2 separate regions of the Homo sapiens genome follow, and region 2 is linked to region 1. Evidence: promoter capture Hi-C in 16 types of primary human blood cells and fetal thymus (Javierre and others, 2016). All regions are on one chromosome and are shown on one strand. The core of a region is centred on a gene start or on the middle of the fragment in contact, and the rest is flanking DNA. Distances in the headings are between cores, read along the strand shown.

The links. The method cuts DNA at HindIII sites, captures the fragments that hold promoters and counts their contacts. A CHiCAGO score of 5 or more calls a contact.
Region 2: a fragment that was not itself captured here is called in contact with the fragment with the promoter of H2AJ in region 1 in 10 of 17 cell types (total CD4 T cells, total CD8 T cells, naive CD4 T cells and 7 more); the score reaches 11.9 in total CD4 T cells.

The regions. Positions count from the first base shown.
Region 1 is chr12:14,770,917-14,776,481 of GRCh38, reverse strand. H2AJ (H2A.J histone) reads right to left here and starts at 2,077. Exons shown (of 1, transcript NM_177925.5): 1 at 1,458-2,077. The coding sequence starts at 2,011. The coding sequence ends at 1,622. H4C16 (H4 histone 16) reads left to right here and starts at 5,351. Exons shown (of 1, transcript NM_175054.2): 1 at 5,351-5,565. The coding sequence starts at 5,398. RefSeq lists enhancers at 967-1,116, 823-1,739, 1,627-1,786, 1,797-2,126, 2,317-2,526 and 3 more. The HindIII fragment of the contact is 5,193 bases long and covers 1-3,688 here.
Region 2 is chr12:15,885,618-15,891,182 of GRCh38, reverse strand. STRAP (serine/threonine kinase receptor associated protein) reads right to left here. Exons shown (of 10, transcript NM_007178.4): 3 at 1,174-1,255; 4 at 514-586. Among named protein-coding and RNA genes, the nearest start is that of STRAP, 6.0 kb to the right of the region's middle. The HindIII fragment of the contact is 606 bases long and covers 2,049-2,654 here.

The sequences.
Region 1 (5,565 bases), core at 828-3,327:
TACGGCCTGACCTTTGTACACCTCAAAAATGGCAACATGGGAGAAGTAATTCCATCATTCATCCACACACAGCAGAGAGGTACAAGTACTAACAGAAGCTGATCTCTCATATTAACGTATGTATTTGTTCCTTGTCCCGTCTTCAGGAACCAATAAAAATAAAGTGAGCTCCGAGAGAGTGGAAATCTGGTTGGCCTCATTCACAGCTCTACTCCTATCACTTTGTACAGAGCCTGGCATAGACAGCTGTTCAATAAATACTGGGGACAAAATAAAGTCCATGTGGGAAAATGGGCCAGCCGCTACCAAGGATGAAGACATACAATATATACATATATTTTTGGGGAAGACTTCAATTCCGACTCACAGGAAAGATGAATCCAAAGATGTGAAATCTGTACTGGGATCTTTTTTGTGGGGTCTGTGAGCCAGGATGAAATTTGCTGAGGATGAAATAAATAGGAGTGTCAATTAAGGGCAGAAGATGATTACTAGTGTTAACTTTTCAATGTGGATTCCTGGTCTGAAATGTGTTTCCCCCTGCACTTACATATTTGGTCCTATCTTTCCTTACATGTTTATTAAAGCAATATTGTGCCATTAGGCAATGCAACTCCCAAAGACATTACTGGAATGAGGTCATTGCTTCAGGCTAGTGGGAGAATATAAGAGAGTTCAAACAGGTTATTTGTTGGGTAAGAACCCCTAAAAGCAAGAGGTTTTTGTTTTGTTTGAAAGCAAAGTCAAACCGATTCTCAAAGTGAATATGATATGATGAAGACAGGATCATTATGAAGCTAGAAACTTGACAACATCACTTTAAAAGCTCAAGCATATGTAACCCACGACTAAAGGCGCTGCAATGTTATGCAATATGACTGTCAGGGGAACGAATTTCCAACCTCATGACTCACTTATTGAACGTTTCCTTCATTAAAAAAAAAATATGAACATAAAAGTGCTATATAAAGATATCTGATATCCAAAGCATGAAAGCACAGCAGCTACTAGGCTAGGAAGAATCTCAAGTTGACATCGTGCCATCAGAGCCACCCTTCCAAGACGGAAAGTTACTCCACTTTTTGAAAAATATGGCCGCAGACACTTCCTGCCCCGAGCTCAGCTCGATCCGACGGTATCTTCCCAGAACTTGGTCCTGAGTGCTCACAAACTGGCAGGAGAGCGAAGGCTCTGTGAAAGGGAAGTAAAAATAATTCCGAAGGAGGCCTCACCGCACCGACTCTGCCTCCCCTTTGCCCTACTGACAGCGAGGTGGCTTCCACCCTGCCCACCTCCAGGCCACCCTCCCCTGACGCCTCGAGGGTGACCTGCGGACTAAAGCCGTCCAGAGTGGCTCAAGCCCACCCACCAGTGCCTGCTCCAGGGGTTTCCCGGTCGCCCCCCTCCCCTGGGGCCATCCGACATGTCCCCGCGACTACACAGCTCTCTCGACCAAACGATTTTCACCAACTTTATTGGCTCCCGCCGGGACCCTCGCCGCCCACCTCCCCGCTAGATGTCACCGGCCCTCCATGACATCCAGCACATTCAAAAGCATTGCGGGACGACCATGAAAAGGGCCTTTGCTGGGGGAGCCAGCTCCCTGAGGGCGGCGTCAGGGTCATTTGCTCTTCGTCTTCTGACTCTCCGTCTTCTTGGGCAGCAGCACGGCCTGGATGTTGGGCAGGACGCCGCCCTGAGCGATGGTCACTTTGCCCAGCAGCTTGTTTAACTCCTCGTCGTTGCGGATGGCGAGCTGCAGGTGGCGGGGAATTATCCTGGTCTTCTTGTTGTCACGCGCGGCGTTGCCAGCCAGCTCCAGGATCTCCGCCGTAAGGTACTCCAACACCGCCGCCAGGTACACCGGCGCCCCGGCGCCCACTCGCTCCGCGTAGTTCCCTTTGCGCAGCAGTCTGTGCACTCGGCCCACCGGGAACTGCAGGCCCGCGCGGGAGGAGCGGGATTTGGCCTTTGCTCGCACTTTGCCGCCCTGTTTCCCGCGACCGGACATGATCACCTCTCGCCTACAACTCCAGAGACGGAGACAAACCGCTCTCGGCGTCCGGTACCGGAATGCAACGTACCGCACCCGAACTGCCTCTACAAACTCTTTACGGCCGCGCGGCAGCCCCTTTCCATTGGCTCTGGTGACCAATGACAGGCAGGCTCCGCTCCCAACTAGCGCTCTGGAAGAGAGACCGCCTCCTCCAGCTCTCTCCAATCAATAGAGCAATCTCCGAATCCTCATTTACATAGCCGCTCACATAAATAACGAGGCCAGCCGGCTCAGTCTTTGGGGACCCAGATGAATTTAGCGGTTACGGGTTTTCCACGACCACGCTCGCTTCCAAGCACATAAACTCGTAGGAAATAAGAAAACATGGTTGGAAACAGAAAACAATCCAGAAGAAGAGCTACAGGGGTTGTCCGTAGACGTTGCTATGCTAAGTGGATGTTCTCATATAATACACCGTACTACTCAGGTAGGTTTCTGTCTCCGCAGCCCGTGCTGCTTAGGCGAAACAACAGCCTGTCCGCGGAATTCTGCCTGCCCAGGACAGGGTCCGTGGACTGTTTCTTATACAAGCGCCTTGCCTCCAGCTAGCTACCCAACAGTGTAGAGACCACCCTGGTCTCCCCGCAGGGTCCTGCGGCTCACAGCCAGCCAATCGTTCACTTTTGAGTCTGAAGCTAGAGTGATGACCAGACGTGAATGCTTCCTGTGCTGACGGGAGGAACAAGCTCGCCTAGCCAAAATATCTTTTGTCTTTGAGGCTATGGGCCTGCAAAGAGCCACTAGGTTTTATTGGAGAGGCCAAAGTCTTGGCCTTGGCTTGCTCCCCGCAAGCCAGGGCGCCACAGATCAGCGGATCGGGTCCTCTGCGAAGACGTGGAGGTCCCCCGGGTCTCTTTGTAAATGAGTCCAGAGACTAAAGTCAGAATGGCAGCTTATTCTTATATACCTGAATTGTGGACCCATGCTTTTTGAAACAAAAAGAGTGTTTCAAGTGTTTTGTTTTAATTAAAAATTACTTTCTCCTAATTCATCGAGGTCATTTCATTTTTACCTGAACATTTTCAGTAACACAGTTAACACCGATACGTGATGTAATGTTGAACGCTTGCTTTTTAAAATAAACATTTTATGTGGATTCATTTACATTTAAAGTAAAGCAAATTTACCTTCTCACTATCCGAATAAAGATTTGACTTCATTGAAATAACATTTTCAAATATTTATGTATATGTCATTACTGCCTAGAACAATGATGAACCCATACTGGGGACTCAATAAATGTCTTCAGAGCTATTGTCATGGTTTAGGCGGTCTTTCCGGAGCCAGTCTGCCTCAGCCTAAATCCTGGCTTTACCACTGAGCAGTGACCTTTGATAAGTTATTTGACTCCTCTACCTGTATCAAAGTGTTTTGAAAATTAAATACGTTAGTAAGCATCCAATAACTCTTAGATATACCAAATAAATGGGCATACAAATCTCTGATGCAGTTTTTAACGAGATGTTCCTGGAATGAGTTCTGTAAACTAGCTTAAATTTTTGCCTGTATCTTGGGGAATTTTCAAGAGTTTTTAAAAGTATTACTATTTTAGACACGATTTTTTTTCTTTTATTCCAATAAGCAAGAGATTTCTAATTTGAAAATGTTCTAGTCTTGATTTCTTAGAAAGCTTAACTATAAGTAAGTCAACCGATTTTACCATTACAATAATTTTTTTTTTTTTTTTTTGAGACGGAGTCTCGCTCTGTCGCCCAGGCTGGAGTGCAGTGGCGCGATCTCGGCTCACTGCAAGCTCCGTCTCCCGGGTTCACGCCATTCTCCTGCCTCAGCCTCCCGAGTAGCTGGGACTACAGGCGCCCGCCACCACGCCCGGCTAATTTTTATGTATTTTTAGTAGAGATGGGGTTTCACCATGTTAGTCAGGATGGTCTCGATCTCCTGACCTCGTAATCCGCCCTCCTCGGCCTCCCAGAGCGCTGGGATTACAGGCGTGAGCCACCGCGCCCGGCCCCATTACAATAATTCTTATCTCTTCAAGATCTGATAGACTTTTCCTCTTCCCTCTGAGTCAAATATTAAAATCATGAGTGAAGTTCGACCATTCAGGACTTTTTCCAGCCATTCAAGACAGTGTTCCAACTCTTTTATCTTTAACAAAAAGTAAAAGAAAAATAAATACCTTTTGGGTTATGAAGATGGGCATGGATTGAAACAAATGTAAACTATAGGCATTTATAAATATAACAAAATTTTACCATAAAGTCTTCCTGCTGTAAAGGCTTATCTTCAAGACCAGGGACAAAGAAGCCCCACTTACTAAAATTCATTGCTCAGAATCCTAATTAACTACCTGGGAAAGACTTATGACTCATCCTCTAAATAACAGCTGCTTTTTAACACAGTAAAACCTTTAGAGAAGACAGGGTCCTGACACCTTTGAAGAGCGGTGACACCTTACAGAAACTTTCGTTTTTGTTCAGGGATTCTCTTGAGAAAGGAAGGGATTCAGAACCTCCTGAGGGGATTTGCAGTAGAAATCATTATTCCAAGTCATGATTGTGGCATCCATTGTTTTACAAGAACTTTGAATTTTTAAGTGGAAAATGTGAGATGAGAACCTGAGATTTGAATGACATAAGACATTGACAATATTTCAACTAAATAACCACAGGAAGTTACTTGGTTGAAAAGCACACAGGCTCTTGCAGGGCAGGAAAACCTGCAAATTGCGCAGAAGCAGCTGAAAGGGGAATGGCGGGGGTCGGGGGGAGGTGGGGGTGGAGTGTAGGTGGGGGACGGGAAGCTGCACTTTCTTTTTTCAATTGAAAGAATTTTAATTATCTGCAGGGCCGTAAAAGAGAAAAAAGTCCTCTCCCCCTACTATGTCTTCAGAAGACCCACGTGTGAAAAATTTTAAATTTTAAGTAATTGCTTTGAAATCTCGGATGTAAAGCTTTTCAGGTTTTTATAGAGTTTCATAGTAAGTCAGGAATTCCGTTTGAAAAAACAGAAGGAGGGAGGGACAGAACAAGGAACGTGCATAGGATCTGGCCTACTTTTATTTAAGCGCTGAGAAAAGGCAATATAAATTCTTTTAGCTCATACTGTTTTAACTTTAAAACGTATCACCATGAACCTTTCTCCAAACATCAGAAAAAATTTTCCCAAAAGAGCAAACAACAAAAAAATCAGGCTGGTTTCGCTGACTGCTTCCTGGACTTAACAACTATAGCATGTCTCCAGAGGTGGGGCCTAGAGCTCCGCCCACTTTTTTGATGTTTTCAAACAGGTCCGCATCGAGAGACTATAAGCCCTGGTCTGCGACTGGCAATCACAGTGGGCAGCCCGATTTTCTGCTGAGTAGGCGCTGTGATTTCAGAATGTCTGGGCGAGGTAAAGGTGGCAAGGGGCTGGGTAAGGGAGGCGCCAAGCGCCACCGGAAGGTGCTGCGGGACAATATCCAAGGCATTACAAAGCCGGCGATTCGCCGTCTCGCCCGACGTGGGGGCGTCAAGCGCATTTCTGGTCTCATCTACGAGGAGACCCGG
Region 2 (5,565 bases), core at 1,102-3,601, 1.1 Mb before region 1:
GCAACATAGCAAATAAACTTATTTTTTAAAAACTGTGCAGAAAAAAAGACTGAAAGTTTATAAACCAAAAACTGATGAATTACGTTTTAATTTTCTTCTTTGTTGACTATTTTTTTTTTTTTGAAACTGAGTTTCACTCTTATTGCCCAGGCTGGAGTGCAGTGGCGCAATCTCGGCTCACTGCAACCTCCACCTCCCGGGTTCAAGCGATTCTCCTGCCTCAGCCTCCCAAGTAGCTGGGATTACAAGCGCCTGCCACCATGCCTGGCTAATTTTTCTATTTTTAATAGAGACGGGGTTTTGCCATGTTGGCCAGGCTGGTCTCGAACTCCTGACCTCAAGTGATCCACCCGCCTCAGTCTCCCAAAGTGCTAGGATTACAGGTATGAGCCACCGTGCCCGGCCATGACTATCTTTATTTTCCAAATTTGAGTACTGAGCATGAAATTCTTTAATCAGTTATTTAAATTAAAAGAAAATAAAACTAGAAGCTGATGTTTAAATTATGCTTACCTGCTTCAGGTTTGTTCAAGTCATATATGCGTAACAGTTTATCCTGTCCCCCGGTTAACAAATAATTACTATCCTGAAAACACAAAGTAAAATGTGAATAGATTAACCATTTTAATAGTTATTTCTCTTTCAAATTTCAACACCAAATAAAATCAAAATCTAGCTCACAGACATCACAAAGAGATGCCAAGACATAACCAATTACTTCTGAGAAGATACTGTGGAACAGCTGACCTCTCATAACTGCCAAGACTTGTAAGCTTTCCACTTCAAAAGCGTTACACTACACTACATATACATGAACTCTCCCATTCTCCCCTGATCCTACTCCTCTCCCTTGTGAGAGGCCCTTTTCTGATTATCTCAAATTTATCTTCTCCCTTCTATTAGTAGTTGGGGAAGGCTACTTGAGCTTTTCAGATGTTTTTTACATGTTGAAGGACTGGTACTCGTTCCACAGTATCTTAAAAGCTTGACAGGATTAACTATGAAACAAATTCATAGAGCTTAATACACAATCAAATCAAATATGAACCAAGAAATAACAAATATTCCACACAAAACATATCAATCAAATATACACACCAATCAAGTATAAAAGCATTATCACACTATGTACCAGCAACTTAACTCGCTAAAATAAATTCCATTTTCTGATACCTGCGTGAAATCCACAGTCTTGACAATGTGTTTATGAGCCAGGGTCATCAATTCATCTCCTGAGACAGCATCCCACACTTTGCTAAAAGTAAAAAAGAGAAAATTAGTAGGATAAATATTACCCAATATATTAAAAGGATAAATACAATTATAATATTGATGAGTACCAAATAAGTTAGATATGTGAAATGTTACATAAATGTATTATAAATCTCCTTTATCTCTAATATCCCTCACAGACTTCATTTGATAAAATATTTAAATAAGCTTAAGGGAAAAGAAATTTCTCTGTAAAAACTTTATAACCAATCTAATTTTCTTTGACAGTGGAAAAGATATGAACAATTTAAGCAAGTAAGATTCATGAACCAACCCATCCTCCTTACTTTTATTTTAGCTGACAGCCATAATATCCCTTTAGCAAGCCTGTCATACATTTTAACCAATTTTTAGTTTCACCATGCCAATTTTTTCTCTATTCTCCACTCAGATGCACAATAAAAAATAAAAATAAATAAAAAAACCAGAAATCCTTAAAAATGTTACAAGGGAATGAAAAGCCTTGGTACAGGCTAAGTAAAATTTTAAATTAAGATAGTGGAGAGACAATGTCCACTTCATCTCTTCTTCAAAGCTGACTTAAAATTTCAAACTCTAGTACAGTTAACTTCCCCCAAACTATCAGCCTTTGATTATATAATGCTAACACTGACTATTTTAATCTTTACATTGTTTTTTCTGTCCCACCCCACCCCAAAATACAAGTTGGTTATAGGTATACATACATTTATATGTGTATGTATATTCTGGGCGGGTAATAGTTGAGCAATACTTTACAAAATTACTCTAAAAGGGTTCCCCCAAATAAAAAAGCTTAAGGAAGGGGGAAAAAAAAGTTGATTTTAGATCAGAACAGGTCAGTGAAAAATAAACAAGAAAACTTTGCAGACAGGGAAAAGAATTGCTAAGAGTGAAAAAGCTATGTTCCATAGAGATTTCCATTTTAATGCAACTGCTATTTATTTTCAGGAACACAGTGGGCAATAAAATGGTAGAGGGAAAAAAATCAGAGAAAAGCAAGATGTATCTTTTCTTTTGCTTACCCCAATACATAATAAAATATATTAAATATATATCATTCTATACTTAGTGCTAAGGCACAAATGGGAGACAAAAAATACCCCACAGTAGGTTCTTGCCATAGTAGAGCTTTAGCTGAGGAGAAAAACATGCATTAAATATCACATTTAAGAAATATAATTAAAAGACATATATATGGCTATAAAAACTCAGAAAAAAGCACCTAGATATTGTCCAGAAAATGTAAGTAACAGAGCTAGCCGTCGGAAGAAGCAAAGAGAAATATATCAGGGGAAAAAGAAGGGAAGGCTATTCTAGATAAGCATTAATAGCATGTGCAATGTGGTTAATGAATATGAAAGACCATCTAACAGGAATGCTCATGATACACTACCAAAGCTTGCAATATTTAATAATGTGGGTCATGTGAGTGGCTGAATAAATATGTTCTGAAAGAAATAATGTCAACTATAAGTAGCCTTGCTGCTAAACTCCCTAGTATTCATTTCTCTTTGCCCAGGAAACTTGCTCCTCTCTCTGTCATTCCAATGCAACTCTCTGGCCCCAATCTACTTTCCCAACCTCATTTTGTATTGTTTCTCTGAATCTAGCAACACTAGATTATAAACCACTCCTCAAATAACTTACGTATTTTCTTCCAGGCTCCTATGTTCTTGTTTATATTATTCTCTTAAGTCTGTATTTTACATTCTTAGCTATTAAAGTTCTACTCACCCTTAGGGCTCATTTCAAATGCTATCTTTTCTTTGAAACTATTTATCCTCAACTCCAATAATTAACCATTCCTTTCTGTTCTCCCACAGAACTCCACTTATTACGGTGCTTAAATTTGCTTTGTTTTTTGTTTACATATATCCTTAATCACAGTGAAATGCATTTCATGGTTGTGGTAAGGGTTCACAAGTATTAGAATGACAGAAAGCATCAAAAGTGAAGAAAACAACAAATGTATCTAAAATTACTATTCTAATTATTCACAAGTCTCCAAAGAAACCCGGGCAATGTCCTTTGATATGCTAATTTCAAGTTTATTAAATAATCTCCCATAAACTTAAAACCTCTCTCTCTTTTTTTTTTTGAGACAGGATCTTGGTATATTGCCCAAGCTATACTTGAACTCCTGGCCTCAAGATCCTTCCACCTCAGCCTCCTAAGTAGCTACAGGCTAACGCCAACATGGCAGCTCTAAAATCTTAAGATTCTGCTTAGACTGTGTCTATTCAAAGGTGAGAAGAGAGTTGGAGTGACCAAAGTAGTAATATTAACCAGAGAGGTAATGTGTCTGTAGTTTTTCCTCCTATTTAGAAACAGTACTAAAATAGAGGCATGACATTTTCTGACAGGGCATGTACTAACTCTGGCAGATTTCCATTATTCACAGTAAGAGCCCTAAAATGGATCTAATCTAAATGTTTCCTAATGTATTATTCAATCTCCAGGCAAGAAATTGACATATATTAGTTGGCCACAGGGCTCAAATCAAGACAGTAAAGCGCTATTAACAATACCCTTTCAGCAGCTAACCCTCCAACATTTTCTTCACATCCCACGAAGTACTTGTCATCTCCTTAAACTACTGTTACCTCTTATACCCCAGTTTCTTGCAAATAATAATGCTGCCTGATACTTTCCATATCCTCAGAATGAACTTACCGTAAGTCTCATAATAGGAGCTGCTTAACTTACTTATTTAAACCTTCAACAAAACAGGCCAGTTTAAGATTTTTAAAAAATTGCCCAAATACCTTAACATGTTGACCAAGTCATCTAGGAGATAATACCATTTTCGATTTATCAAGAACCTTATTAAAACTAAAATTAGATATTTCTATTGGCTTTACAAGAAAGAAAGAGTGATACATTGTGATTACCTATAAATTCCTGGACCCAATCCCAGATCTACTTAAGCCCTCTTGGGAGCACAGCACAGAATTGTCTTTACTTTGGCACTCTTCCCAAATAGATACAAAGAGATGGTGTTTTAGGGACACTGTACTCAACACTGGACTCAATTGCCCGAATTACTCCAAGATAACATTCTACACTAGTCCACAGACCTATTCTGCTAAATTTCTCCACAAGAAACGGGACCAAATTCCACTTCTAAATGACCACACCATAAATGAGTTTTCCAAGAAACGTAAGAATGGAGGGAAAAAAAAATTGTTTCTAAAAATGCTTTATACCAACCATGACTAATCAGGTAGGCTGTGGGGAGTAACTTCTTGGAGAGAATACACACACACACAAACACGCACATGAAAACACGCTCCTACACCCCACAGACAAGACATAGAGGAAATGAGGGATAAATCTCAACTAGCATTTATTGAGCACCTACTATGTGACAGAGATCATATTGGACTTCAGGGATATATGGTGGAGAAAGATCTCTCTGTTCCTCCAATAATCTCATGGGTCTTAGTCCCATTTTACAGATATGAAAGCCGACATTTAAGAAACATCCTGCCATGGTGGGCAGATCGCTTGAGCCCAAGAGTTCAAGACCAACCTGGACAACATGGTGAAGCCCATCTCTACAAAAAACACAAAGATTAGCCAAGCATGGTAGTACACGCCTGTGGTCACTATTCAGGAGGCTGAGGTTGGAGAACTGCTTGAGACTGGGAGATAGAGGCTGCAGTGAGCTATGATCACGCCACTGCACTCTAGCCTAGGCACCTAAGACCCTGTTTCAAAAAAAAAAAAAAATCCTATGATGATCAAACTGGAAATACACAGCATAGTTAGCACACGAATGCAAGCCCACCTAGTGCCAATGCTTGTTATTATTTTCCACTCTAACACAGCACCTAAAGCCTTAACTGAGGAGGGGGAAAAAAAAATCACAAAAATCTTCCTTCTTGACATTTAAATCTATTCAATCTTCCTTATATGAGGCCAAATAGTTTGAAGGCTTTAGCCATATTAGTTTCAAAATAATATGTGATTTTGATCAAGTGCGGGTGGTGATAGTTTACATGGTAGCTATCATCGTTACTTTACATATGTAACACTTTCATAGGTGTAATAGACTTCAGGCAATGTTGTAAGTATTCGAAACATATTAACTTATTTAATATTCAAAACCAACCTATGAATTAGGTACCATGACAGAAAAAAAAATGGTTAAATAAAGTGCATGAGGCCACCAATTCAAATTCAGGTCATCTGGCTCCAGCCTTCATGCTCTTAATACACCACTTGTAAACACAGACATTGAGACTTGAAATGTTAAGAAAGCATAAAAACAACACTGTTTCAATAAACAAGAGCATACAGTCACGTATC